4 separate regions of the Homo sapiens genome follow, and all the other regions are linked to region 1. Evidence: promoter capture Hi-C in human tissues and cell types (Jung and others, 2019). All regions are on one chromosome and are shown on one strand. Each heading gives the region's core, a stretch centred on a gene start or on the middle of the fragment in contact. The rest is flanking DNA. Distances are from core to core; before and after follow the strand shown. Region 1 holds the start of GPC1 (glypican 1). Region 2 has its middle 18 kb from the start of OR6B3. Region 3 overlaps COPS9 (COP9 signalosome subunit 9). Region 4 has its middle 16 kb from the start of KIF1A.

Region 1 (2,700 bases), core at 96-2,595:
CTTCCTGCTCCAGCCCCACACAGCGGCTGAGAGCCCCAGGCACAGAAGGGGTAGGGAATGTTGCCACCACCCCCACCACGGACCCCGCTGCAGCTTCCAGGTGATGCCACAGGCCCTGAAATCAGGACACCCTTGCTGTACATGGGGGTCATCTTGAGGTTCTCTGCCAAGGATACTGACCTCTATGCCTGCCCCCAATTCTGCAGCTCAGGCACCTGGCTTCACCGCCAGGCCTTACCATGTGGAGAACAGGGGGCCGGGGTGGGGGGTCTGGGAGCCAAGGAAGGAGTGAAGCCCTCCAGACACCAACATCGCAGTCCTCGCCCCCTCCCTACAGACCCCATCCAGCCCAACTCCCCATGTGCAGCTAAAGCCACGCGCCCTCCTACCATACAAGGTGCAGGCAGCCCTCCCGCCTTCTTCAAAGAGGCATCTGCTCCGGCTCACTCCACCCTCCTCCCCCAGTGGCCTAACTAGTCGCCGGGTTCCAACCCTATCCCTTCTCCAGAGGTCATCTGGCCCCACCCAGCAGCCCAAACCAGTAGACCGGCCCTGCCCCATCACTTTGGTTTCTCCAGCATCCAAAGAACGTGGAGGGTCACCCCCCCAAAACAGCTGTCAAGGTCCAACAATTAAGCCATCTGTTGCCGCTCCCTGGGACTGGGAGAGGTGAGGTCGAGTTTCTTGGCGAGTTTCCTGCGTGCAGCCCCCACACCACAAAAGCCCCCGGTGCGAGCCGGAGCCCAGCGCGAGACGGCTGGAAGGGCGCGGGGAGGGAGCCGCTGCGGGGTGCAGGCGGGGAGAGGGGCGGCGGCTCGAGGCGCGGCCGGCGGGCGGAGGGTACGGAGGCGCCGGGAGAGCGTTCTCGGGGCGCGCTGCCAGGGTGCAGGAAGCCGGAGCGCGCGGGAGGGAGCGGGGAGCGGGATGCCGATTTCGGCTGGGGGCGGGGAGGCCCCTGATTGGGGCGCGGGAGGCGTGATGTCACGTCCGGCGGGGGAAGCCCTGCCTCGCGCACCCTCCGCCCCCGTCCCCGCCCCCACAGGTGGTGCCACCGCCCTGGGCGCTGGGCGTGGGGGGCCGCCCTCGGGGACCCCGGCCGCGGCCCCGCGCTGCCCGGCTCCGCCGCCTCCCGCCGGGGATCGATAGAGTCGCGCGGCCAGGCGGGCCCTCTGGGTCCCTAAGAGCCAGAGGAGCGCCCAGTGCGCCCCGGCCCGCGCCCCCGCGCCGCGCCCCGCCCCGCCCCGCCCGGTGCTCCCAGTCCCTCCCCCACCCCTGCGCTCCCACCCTGCCCCGCCCCTCTCCTCTCCCGCGGCCGCCTAGGGGCCGGGCCGGCGGCGGGGGAGGCGCCGAGCCGGGACTGCGCTAGCCCGCCGCGCTCTGGGCTGCCCGAGCGAGCGTTCGGACCTCGCACCCCGCGCGCCCCGCGCCGCCGCCGCCGCCGGCTTTTGTTGTCTCCGCCTCCTCGGCCGCCGCCGCCTCTGGACCGCGAGCCGCGCGCGCCGGGACCTTGGCTCTGCCCTTCGCGGGCGGGAACTGCGCAGGACCCGGCCAGGATCCGAGAGAGGCGCGGGCGGGTGGCCGGGGGCGCCGCCGGCCCCGCCATGGAGCTCCGGGCCCGAGGCTGGTGGCTGCTATGTGCGGCCGCAGCGCTGGTCGCCTGCGCCCGCGGGGACCCGGCCAGCAAGAGCCGGAGCTGCGGCGAGGTCCGCCAGATCTACGGAGCCAAGGGCTTCAGCCTGAGCGACGTGCCCCAGGCGGAGATCTCGGGTGAGTGAGGGCGCGGCGCCGGGAACCCGGGCCTGGCCGGGCTTTGGGCTCCGGACCCTGGTCTTCCCGACGCGGCTACTCGCCCCCGGCGCGGGATCCTGCCGCCTGCGCCCCGCCGCCCGGGCCCCGAATGGCTCCCTGCGCTGCGGCTCCTCTGCAACCCCACGGCCCTCGCCTCCAAGCCCCGCGCCGCACTCCCTCGCCAGGGTCTCCTCCGCCCCGCTCGGTCGTCCTCCGCCCCTCCCCGCCCCCCGCACGCCGGCTTCTTCCCTGCGGAGCTGATCTCGCCGGGCTGCGGGCTCGGGGCGCTCCTCCCGGGCCACGGCTGGAGCTGGGCGTCTTCTGCCCGCCGCTCGGCCCAGCGCGCCTGCAGGCCGGGAGTCCCAGCCCCGGGGCCGGCTGTCGGGGCGCTGTGGGGCTCGGCGTGGCCGGGCTTTCGGGGCGCCGCTGACGGTGGCCGCGGACCCCTTCTGCTCTGTACAGACCTCTCTGGGAGGCGTCTCCGGTCCTGCCCGGGGATTCTCGTAGGGTCTCCAGCAAAGGCAGCCTAGGTGGGTTTTATAAGCTGACCCCCTCGGGGGGTAGTGCGGAGGGGTGGGGAGGGAGCTGGGCACTTATCCGCGGGCGGAACGCCGCCGCCTCGTAGAGATTCCTGTCGAAGAACTTGTACGCGCCGGCCCCCGCCTGGCGCTTGGGCAGCCTCGTGCCGCGAGTCCAGCTGCAGGTGGTCGGCGCGTTGGATCCCGCCCAGGGGCCGTGTCATTTCTTTGTAAGAACAGCGGCCCTCTTGGCGCCCCCTAAGCCCTGCAGCCGCCTGCGGCTCTGCCTCTTCCCTCCCTGTGGTCCCGGAGGAGCTTTGGGGACAGAAGTGTACGGGTGGGTGGAACGGTGGGCTCCGTGTGCTAAGGAACTCTTGGAACCCAAGCTTCACCT
Region 2 (2,700 bases), core at 60-2,559, 360 kb before region 1:
ATTCAAGCAATTCTCCTGCCTCAGCCTCCCGAGTAGCTGGGATTGCAGGCATTTGTCACCATGCCCAGCTAATTTTTTTTGTATATTTTGTAGAGATGGGGGTTTCACCAAGTTGGCCAGGCCAGACTCCTGACCTCAAGTGATCTGCCCCCCTCGGCCTCCCAAAGTGCTGGGATTACAGGCATGAACCACTGCACCTGGCCTGGAGGATCAGATTTATAGAAACCCTCATGCCACCATTTTGGAAGTCCGGCCTCTGAATTCATTATTCACTGCTGTGTTTCTTGAACATTTATTTTTCTTAAATTGATGTTTTATCCCAAGTCAAGCATCATTTGGTCAAATTTCTAGTAATTTTAAAAAATGGATTCACGAAAGGTAAACTTTCCAACAGCTTCTATATTCCAAGATAAACACGGAATATGATTTAAAACTTCAAAAAAAGAATTATCAGTGGCCAAAAAATGTAAGAAAATATGATTGACATCACTTAAAATTAAGTGAATACGGTTTGACAAATAACATTGAAGTATTATTTTTTCTTCGGGCCTGTCAGAGTAGCTGAAATTCAAAAATACTAATTAAATTTAATCATCACAGGTTGTGGGGAAATAGGCCAACTCAGCACTTTGAAGTGTTAATTAGCATTTCATGTTTGGAGGATAATTTATCAGCCCTTGTAAAAGGAACCTACCTTCTGACACTCTTCATCTATTATTATGAATCTCGCCTCCAAAAATCATTGTTCTGGTGCAGACAGACTTTTGTTGCAGTCCCTTAGGAAACAATGGAAATATAAGAAACAAATTATAAATATATAAGAAACAACTTATAAATCTTTCAGTAGGGGCCGGGCATGGAGGCTCAGGCCTAGAATCCCAGCACTTTGGGGGGCCAAGGCAGGCAGATCACCTGAGGTCAGGAGTTCGAGACCAGCCTGGCCAACATGGTGAAACCCCATCTCTACTAAAAATACAAAAATTAGCCGGGCATAGTGATGTGCACCTGTAATCCCAGCTACTCGGGAGGCCGAGGCAGGAGAATCACTTGAACCCGGGAGGCAGAGGTTGCAGTGAACTGAGATCGGGCCACTGCACTCCAGCCTGGGTGACAGAGTGAGACCCTGCCAAAAAAAAAAAAAAAAATCTTTCAATAGGACATTGGTTAAATAAAGCATGTAAACTGTAGTCCACCCATATAGAGAAAAACTGTGACTCTGTCAGAAAAAGAGAGGGAGAAAATAACAGACAGACACAGAGATAGGCACCCAGAAATATATAATCTGGAGGAATATGCAACAAAGCGTTTAGAACATATAAATAAAACATGGAAAATGGGTTTGGGTATTTATGGGGAATTGTCATAATAGCTGTAGCTGTCTGTTAGTTCATATTTTTTAAAACAATAAGTTTATCGATTCAGCTATCTTATTTCTTGGAAACACAGTCACATGGAAAGAAGTCTATAAATTTATAAGAATAAGAAATGAGACACTGAAGCCCCCTCTTACTTTCCAATCTCCCTTTTCCTTCCCCATTATCCTTGGCAGAAGTAAGTGATGTAAATAGACTTACATCACCCAGTTATTTGCCTTTGCATTTATATACATTGATTTTCACATGGATATGTATTGAATATTTTTAACATGAATGAAGTTATCCTACATATGCTAAAACTTGTGTTATTGTTTTCGCTTTTCTTTTCTTTTCTTTGAGTTAGGTTCTCACTCTGTTGTCCAGGCCGAAGGGCAGTGGCATGATCACAGCTCACTGCAGCCTCAACCTCCTGGGCTCAAGCGATCCTCCCACCTCATTCTCCCAAGTAGCTGGGTCTACAGGTGTGCACCACCATGCCCGGCTAATTTTCGTATGTTTTGTAGAGGTGGGGTTTTGCCGTGTTGCTCAGGCTGGTCTCGAACTCCTAAGCTCAAGCAATCTGCCCACCTCGGCTTCCCAAAGTGCTGAGATTACAGGCATGAGCCACTGTGCTGGGCCTTGTTTCCACTTTTAAATGTCTTAATGATGCAGGTTATGACTGGAAATAAGTTAGATATTATAAGAGAAAGAAAAAGATGTTTTTAAGAATTTCAGATGTTTGGCTTGAGTGATGAATGGAAGATCCAGAAATGAAATAAAGAAGAGATTGGGAAGGAAAGATTAAGAGAGGATTTTTTTGGATAGGTCCATTATGAGAGATCTCTGAGATAACCAAGTGAAGATGACATTCTTATCAAAAACCAGGTGCCAGCGATCCTTTTAATGTTTGACAAACTTATGAACAAAACATAACTATTTCGGGTTTTATTTTCCCCAATCATTGAAATTTAATGTCTCTTCATTGAGGTTGAGCATATTTAACCTCATAGTTTACTTTGTTCATGGAAAATTGATGTTTATCATTGAGACTTACAATCTTTTCATGTTGATCGTTCATTTGTATTTCCTCTCCTATATTTGTGCGTTTCTAACCTTTGTCCATCTCCAGTTAGTTTTGTTTTGTTTTGTTTTTTTGAGATGGAGTCCAGTCTGTCCATCTCAATGGACAGACGGGGTTTCACGGTGTTGGCCAGGATGGTCTCGATCTCCTGACCTCATAATCCACCTGCCTCGGCCTCCCAAAGTGCTGGAATTACAGGTGTGAGCCACCACGCCTGGCCTTCCAGTTAGTTTTTTAAAAATCTTTTTCTTATTGATGTGTAAG
Region 3 (2,700 bases), core at 41-2,540, 300 kb before region 1:
CAGTCTTATCTTTCTGGTTAACCAGGTCCTAAATTCAAGGGATTTCCACGTGTTCTTTAAAACCACCTGAAACTGTCCTGCGCAGGCTCACACTGCGGCTCTGTACCAAGGGCTTGGCCCCGCCTGCAGCCAGAGGGCATCTCACTGGATGTCATCATCATCAAAAAGATCTTCAAAATCTAGGGAAATAAGCAAAACCACGTAGTTACACCTACAAGGGTAAGGGCTGAAGAAATCACTTCAGAATGAATTATATAGTAGTCCAAAATACAGAGATAATCGTCAATGATCCAATGAAATAAAAGACTTTTCCCGTAACAGACTTTCAGTTTCAGCCAACCAGGGCTCGTACATGTAGTCCAAGGGGAGAGTGTTGGCTAGAGTGCTTTCTAGCTTTCATTTAAAAGACAATCCTAAGAAAATGCATGCAGGGCTGTTCTGAGTCCCACGGACACCACCGCACAGCCACAACTCAGCACTCAGGACACGCCAGTGCCGTGTCTGCACCCACGAGTGCACGGGCACCCAAGATGCTGCCCTCGCTGCCGGGGCCGGGGAGAGATGAAGCTGGGAGGCACGTGCTGGGTCCTTGAGAGCAGAGGGAAACCAGCCGGCTGCCGCTGTGAGCATGAGAAAGCCGGGCTAGGCTGCAGAAAGGTGAAGCCTCCAGTAAGGGAGCGTGAATGATACTCAAGCCTGAGAAACACCTGCTAAGGCCCATTCTCACTGGAAGAAACGCAGCAAACACGTAGTGCCCTGCTTTGGGTGATCAAAATCAGGCCCCCCAGGAAAGATTTTGTCCTTCTGTTTAGTCTTCTGTGTTTTTCAAATTCCCTACTACAGGCAATCATCACTTTCACAATGGGAGGTGAAAATACAACTAAAAGCCCACCCACATGTACTGCGCACTGAAAATGTGCAGTATGAATTATGAACTAGAAAGAGGAGGTTCAACTCCTGGAGGGTCAGAGCGAAGAGAAAGGGGCCTGCTGGCACCACAGCATCCAGCCTTCCTGGGGAGGGTGGCGTCCCTGAGGCATCTCTGGATACTGCAGAGGGTCCCGACGCTCCCCAGCCACACTGATGCACCCCCACGTCCTCACTGCCTCCCGACTGCTGGTTGTGGTTCGCCGCTAGGAGCACTTTTGCGCAGTCCTGGGCCTGGCTGACTCCACACCTTCCGACCTCTGCTCTGCTGCCCCCTCTGGAGAAACCTCCCTCTGCAGTGCTCCCAGAAACAATGCCGTCCACGCTTTGCCAGGGCTCTTGTCACAGTCCAGCCCCTGCCTGCTGACTTGTCTGGACCCACAATTTTGTAAGACATGGCGAGGGAAGAGAGAGTGTCTCTTTCGTGGCTAGAACCCTGGTGCCCAGGGTGTAACAGCCCAGCAAACCCATCTGTTTGACGAGTAAAAAGGACTTAGCAAAAGCCTCATCCACAGCCCACAGAGGTCTCTCAAAGTAAATGGCTTCTTGAACACATGGGGTTGTCACAACCTGATGGGACAGTGAGTGCTTTGTGAACTTAGTGGGTGGGCAGGCAGGGGACACAGAGCTCTCCTGCGTCCCCTCCCTGACCGGCCGTGGCTCAAAGGCAGACACGCGCCCACAATGCTCAGGTTGCTGGGCGCTCACCTGACGGGTAGGACCTGGGTCCCTCTCAGAGATGCTTTCCCGTCAGGATTCAAGGGCTGACTCTGGAAGTCATGTGAACTCAAACACTAGAACACAGCAATCGCCTCTAACCAATGGGCTGGCAGAGGATAAATGGGACTTTGAAGGAGATCATCAAAATGCAAGCGTGTGGTGCCAGCATTAGCAACTGCCCAATCCTGCCCACGTGAAAAGCTTCAAAGTCGCCCTGGTGAGCTGGTGTTTTTGCAAAGCAGCTTTGGAGAGCGCTCTGCAGCTTTGTACAATTTGTTCCCTCTGAAGGCAACACCCTTCTCCCACCTCGCTCTGGCATAAAGAATTGAAATAAATGCTATTCAGTTCTCCAGGCTCATCTCAAATGTCATCTGCCTCAGTTCTGACTCCAGTTGGTAGCAGTAAGAATGCTGCCTCAGGGGCATGGCCAGGCACCCTGGGAAAGCCTGCACCCCAACTCAGCAGCTTGGCTGCTCCCCTCAGGCAATGGCTGCCTGACAGTAAGCCTGATGAAGCAGCAGGGACTCAGGATGGCAGGGGGTCTCTGGTAAATTAGAAACCGATGTGGCAAGCTCAGGTCCTAGCTGTTAACTAGTAACAAGAGCTTTCTGTAGAGAAAAGCACCATGGATTAAACCAGGATGAAAAATGCCACCTCACTCTCTGGAGTAAGAAACCTATCTTATTTACTTATTATTTGAACCCTTAGTAAAGGTTAATATCATCTATAGGAATAAGGCCTGAAGAAATCAGAAGAGAATGAGAAATATTCCCTCTAGCAGGTCTGAAGATGTTACAGAAAATTTGCTTTTCACTGTTCATTTGGTTTACCCATGTTTTTGGTAACTAGCACTGAAGCCCTTAAATCAAGAGGAAAACACATCCTGCGTCCTGATTTCAGAGCTGGGCAAGAGCTGGAGTATGGCTGTCCCTCTGCAAAGGCAGCTGAGGGCATGAGAACCCAGGCAGGCAAACACAGGTGGGCTGGGAGAGGAAAGGAAACCGGCTACCCGGAGAGGGCGGAGACAGGGAGACAGATGGGGTTCCTATGGCC
Region 4 (2,700 bases), core at 3-2,502, 400 kb after region 1:
TTCACCAATGGAGGCATGAGGTCAGCCTCTCTCTGCACTAATGTTAAGGCTTGGCAATGACCTCTCCCCACTCAAGCCCACCCCTCCCAAATCCTCGTCATTCATAAACAGCTTCCACCCAGCTCAGCCATGGAGGCTGGTAGTACCTTCTAACGCAGGGTGCTCACCCTGGCTGCAGATCAGAATCACCCTGCTGTATCCCTCAGAGATCCTGACTCCATTGTTCTCCGTGAGTTATGGGGGCTCCTAGTTAAGCACGCCAAGTGGTTCTGTGTGTGGCTGGGCCCTGGGACCCCTGGCATGGGCAGCCATCAATCAGGAGAAGTCCTGGCTATGATCACCTCTTGCCTGCCGGAGAATCAGATGGGCAGAGAGAAGATGCAAAGCAGCATTTCCTCCTTACACACTTCCAAATGCTCGCCCACAGTGACTGTGTTTTTGTTCCATCCTGTTTTAGTGGACATATGTTCTCAAAATCATTACTCTGTGCTTGGGACTGGGGTCCAGGCCTCCTCCCCATTTTACGGATGGAGAAATTGAGGCTCAGAAGGGAGTCAGGACCAGGACGCAGGACAGACGATGCCAGATGAATGGCCCTTCCCATTCCTCTGCTAGAAGAACAAGTGTCCACTCCCTATTTCTTGTTTTTCTCCTGAAAATCCAAATGTTTATAGAAGTCATAAAGAGAAATAAACAACCAGGTTTTTGCCCCAGGAAACAGGTCTGGTGAAGATGTTTATTGGAGACTCTTGAGGACCAAACCCAAAACTGGGTCATCCTGAGGGGAAGAGGGTGAGGAGGAGCCACGATGAATTGCACCAACGTGGGATTTCTGAAGATAGTCGCGCCAGTTTCTGACCCTGGGGCTGCTGAGGGTGACCCCGTGTCCAGGCCCAGCAGGACAGTCCTGCCTTGTGCTTTTGTGCCCATGCCCTCTTTCACTCTCACAGTGCCCGGCTTGGGCGGCAAATGACACAGGTGCCCTTCACACCACAGGGAACTCCCAGACCTGGAGTTCTCAGTGCAGTGGACAGAAAAGGAGGCCGAGGCTTGCTGCGTTTTTGGAGACACTTAGCACCACATTCTGTATTTATCCACATTAGGTTTGGGACAGTTTGTTGGGAAGGGGCGTGTGTGTGTGTCTGTGTGTGTGTGTGTGTGTGTGTGTGTGTCTGTGTGTGTCTGTGTGTGTGTATGTATACACGCATGAGTGGGAAAGAAAGAAGGCCAGGCGCGGTGGCTCGCGCCTGTAATCCCAGCACTTTGGGAGGCTGAGGCGGGCAGATCACAAGGTCAGAAGATCGAGACCATCCTGGCTAACATGGTGAAACCCCGTCCCTACTAAAAACACAAAAAATTAGCCGGACGTTGTAGCGGGCGCCTGTAATCCCAGCTACTCGGGAGGCTGAGGCAGGAGAATGGCGTGAAACCAGGAGGCAGAGCTTGCAGTGTGCCAAGATCGTGCCACTGCACTCCAGCCTGGGCGACAGAGCGAGACTCCGTCTCCAAAAAAAAAAAAAAAGAAAGAAAGAAAGAGATGTCAAGTGGAGAGAGGCTGAGACCCTCAGAGCTCCAGTGGGTGGGAAGAGGCCAGGATGTGAAGTCACGAGAGCCGGGAGGCCCCAGATGCTCAGGACCCCCAGGAGTCCTGGGTTCTATGAGCCTCGCCCTCCTCAGCCCCTGCCTTGGGGATTTGGACTCTGCGGGGCTGGGAGGAGGCCTAGGAGTCCGTCATTGCAGGATCACACCCCCATCCCTGCACAATCCCTAATCTCACATCAGAATCACTCAGAGGTAGGACCAGGGTCATGATCCCATTTCAGGAAGGAGTGAAAGAGGGGCTTTGCTGGGCCCCGGACTCAGAAACCAGAGCCCTGGGTGGGTGGGGCCCAGGCTGGGCAGCCCCCAGCCAACCAAGGGTAGGGACTGGTAGGGCCCCAAGTGAATGGGTCCCCGGGCTCTAGCCCGGGAGGCCCACCGGGGATCTGCACAGCGTGGGCAGCTCTGCCGGGATCTGCTTGTGGCGCACTGGACGGCCGGGTGCTGACTCAGTGTCTGGCCAGCAGCAACTGGGCTGGGGCCAGATCCCATCGCAGCGCAGCCGTGTCGGCAGGCAGCTGCTCCCGGACCAGGACCAGCTGCTCCTGGGGACCAGGACCAGAACGAAGTGTTAGCTGTTGACACGTCAGTCCAAGTCCCCTACCCCTCTGCTTTTGCTGCTCCCAGTCCCTCCAGTTTTCCCTCATCTGTTCATCCACAAAGACCCTGGAAGCCCTGAGCTTCCTCTGTGTCTGGAGCTGCAGCATGGCAGTGGGAAGGGCTGCCCCTCTGCAGGGCCGCTGTGCTGTGTGCTAGGTGGGGCTAATAGCTGGGGTCACCCCTGCTGCTCACCCTTAGCTGAGGAGGAGAGGAAGCAAATTGGGTGCTCCCCAGTGACTTGGGTCTGGATTCTGCTGTCAGCCTACACACAGAGCAGGAGGCTGGGGACTAGAGGTTCTCTGGGGACAGCATGTAGAGGACTTGACCACAGTGCTAGATGCTGGCAGGGACGGAACCGAGTAAGACACCATCCTCCCCAGGGCAACCTGCCATCTTTCTGATGACAGACACTTACACAAGTACAGGGAAGACAGGGACCTCACGCCATGGAGGAGCCCAGGGTGTGCGAGGTGGACTTCTCCCCTGTGCAGACCTACTCCT

Evidence for each region. Contacts are between HindIII fragments. The study calls those that stand out against the background at their distance.
Region 2: a fragment that was not itself captured here is called in contact with the fragment with the promoter of GPC1 in region 1 in 1 of the 25 tissues and cell types used here (lymphoblastoid cells).
Region 3: a fragment that was not itself captured here is called in contact with the fragment with the promoter of GPC1 in region 1 in 1 of the 25 tissues and cell types used here (dorsolateral prefrontal cortex).
Region 4: a fragment that was not itself captured here is called in contact with the fragment with the promoter of GPC1 in region 1 in 1 of the 25 tissues and cell types used here (lymphoblastoid cells).

Annotation. Positions count from the first base shown.
Region 1 is chr2:240,434,318-240,437,017 of GRCh38, forward strand. GPC1 (glypican 1) reads left to right here and starts at 1,346. Exons shown (of 9, transcript NM_002081.3): 1 at 1,346-1,767. The coding sequence starts at 1,602. RefSeq lists enhancers at 1-9, 409-985 and silencers at 815-1,474, 1,535-1,594. The HindIII fragment of the contact is 16,928 bases long and covers 1-2,700 here.
Region 2 is chr2:240,070,481-240,073,180 of GRCh38, forward strand. No RefSeq gene overlaps it. Among named protein-coding and RNA genes, the nearest start is that of OR6B3, 18 kb to the left of the region's middle. The HindIII fragment of the contact is 5,248 bases long and covers 1-2,700 here.
Region 3 is chr2:240,130,910-240,133,609 of GRCh38, forward strand. COPS9 (COP9 signalosome subunit 9) reads right to left here. Exons shown (of 3, transcript NM_001163424.2): 3 at 1-179. The coding sequence ends at 142. Among named protein-coding and RNA genes, the nearest start is that of COPS9, 4.0 kb to the right of the region's middle. The HindIII fragment of the contact is 5,894 bases long and covers 1-2,700 here.
Region 4 is chr2:240,834,810-240,837,509 of GRCh38, forward strand. No RefSeq gene overlaps it. Among named protein-coding and RNA genes, the nearest start is that of KIF1A, 16 kb to the left of the region's middle. The HindIII fragment of the contact is 6,293 bases long and covers 1-2,700 here.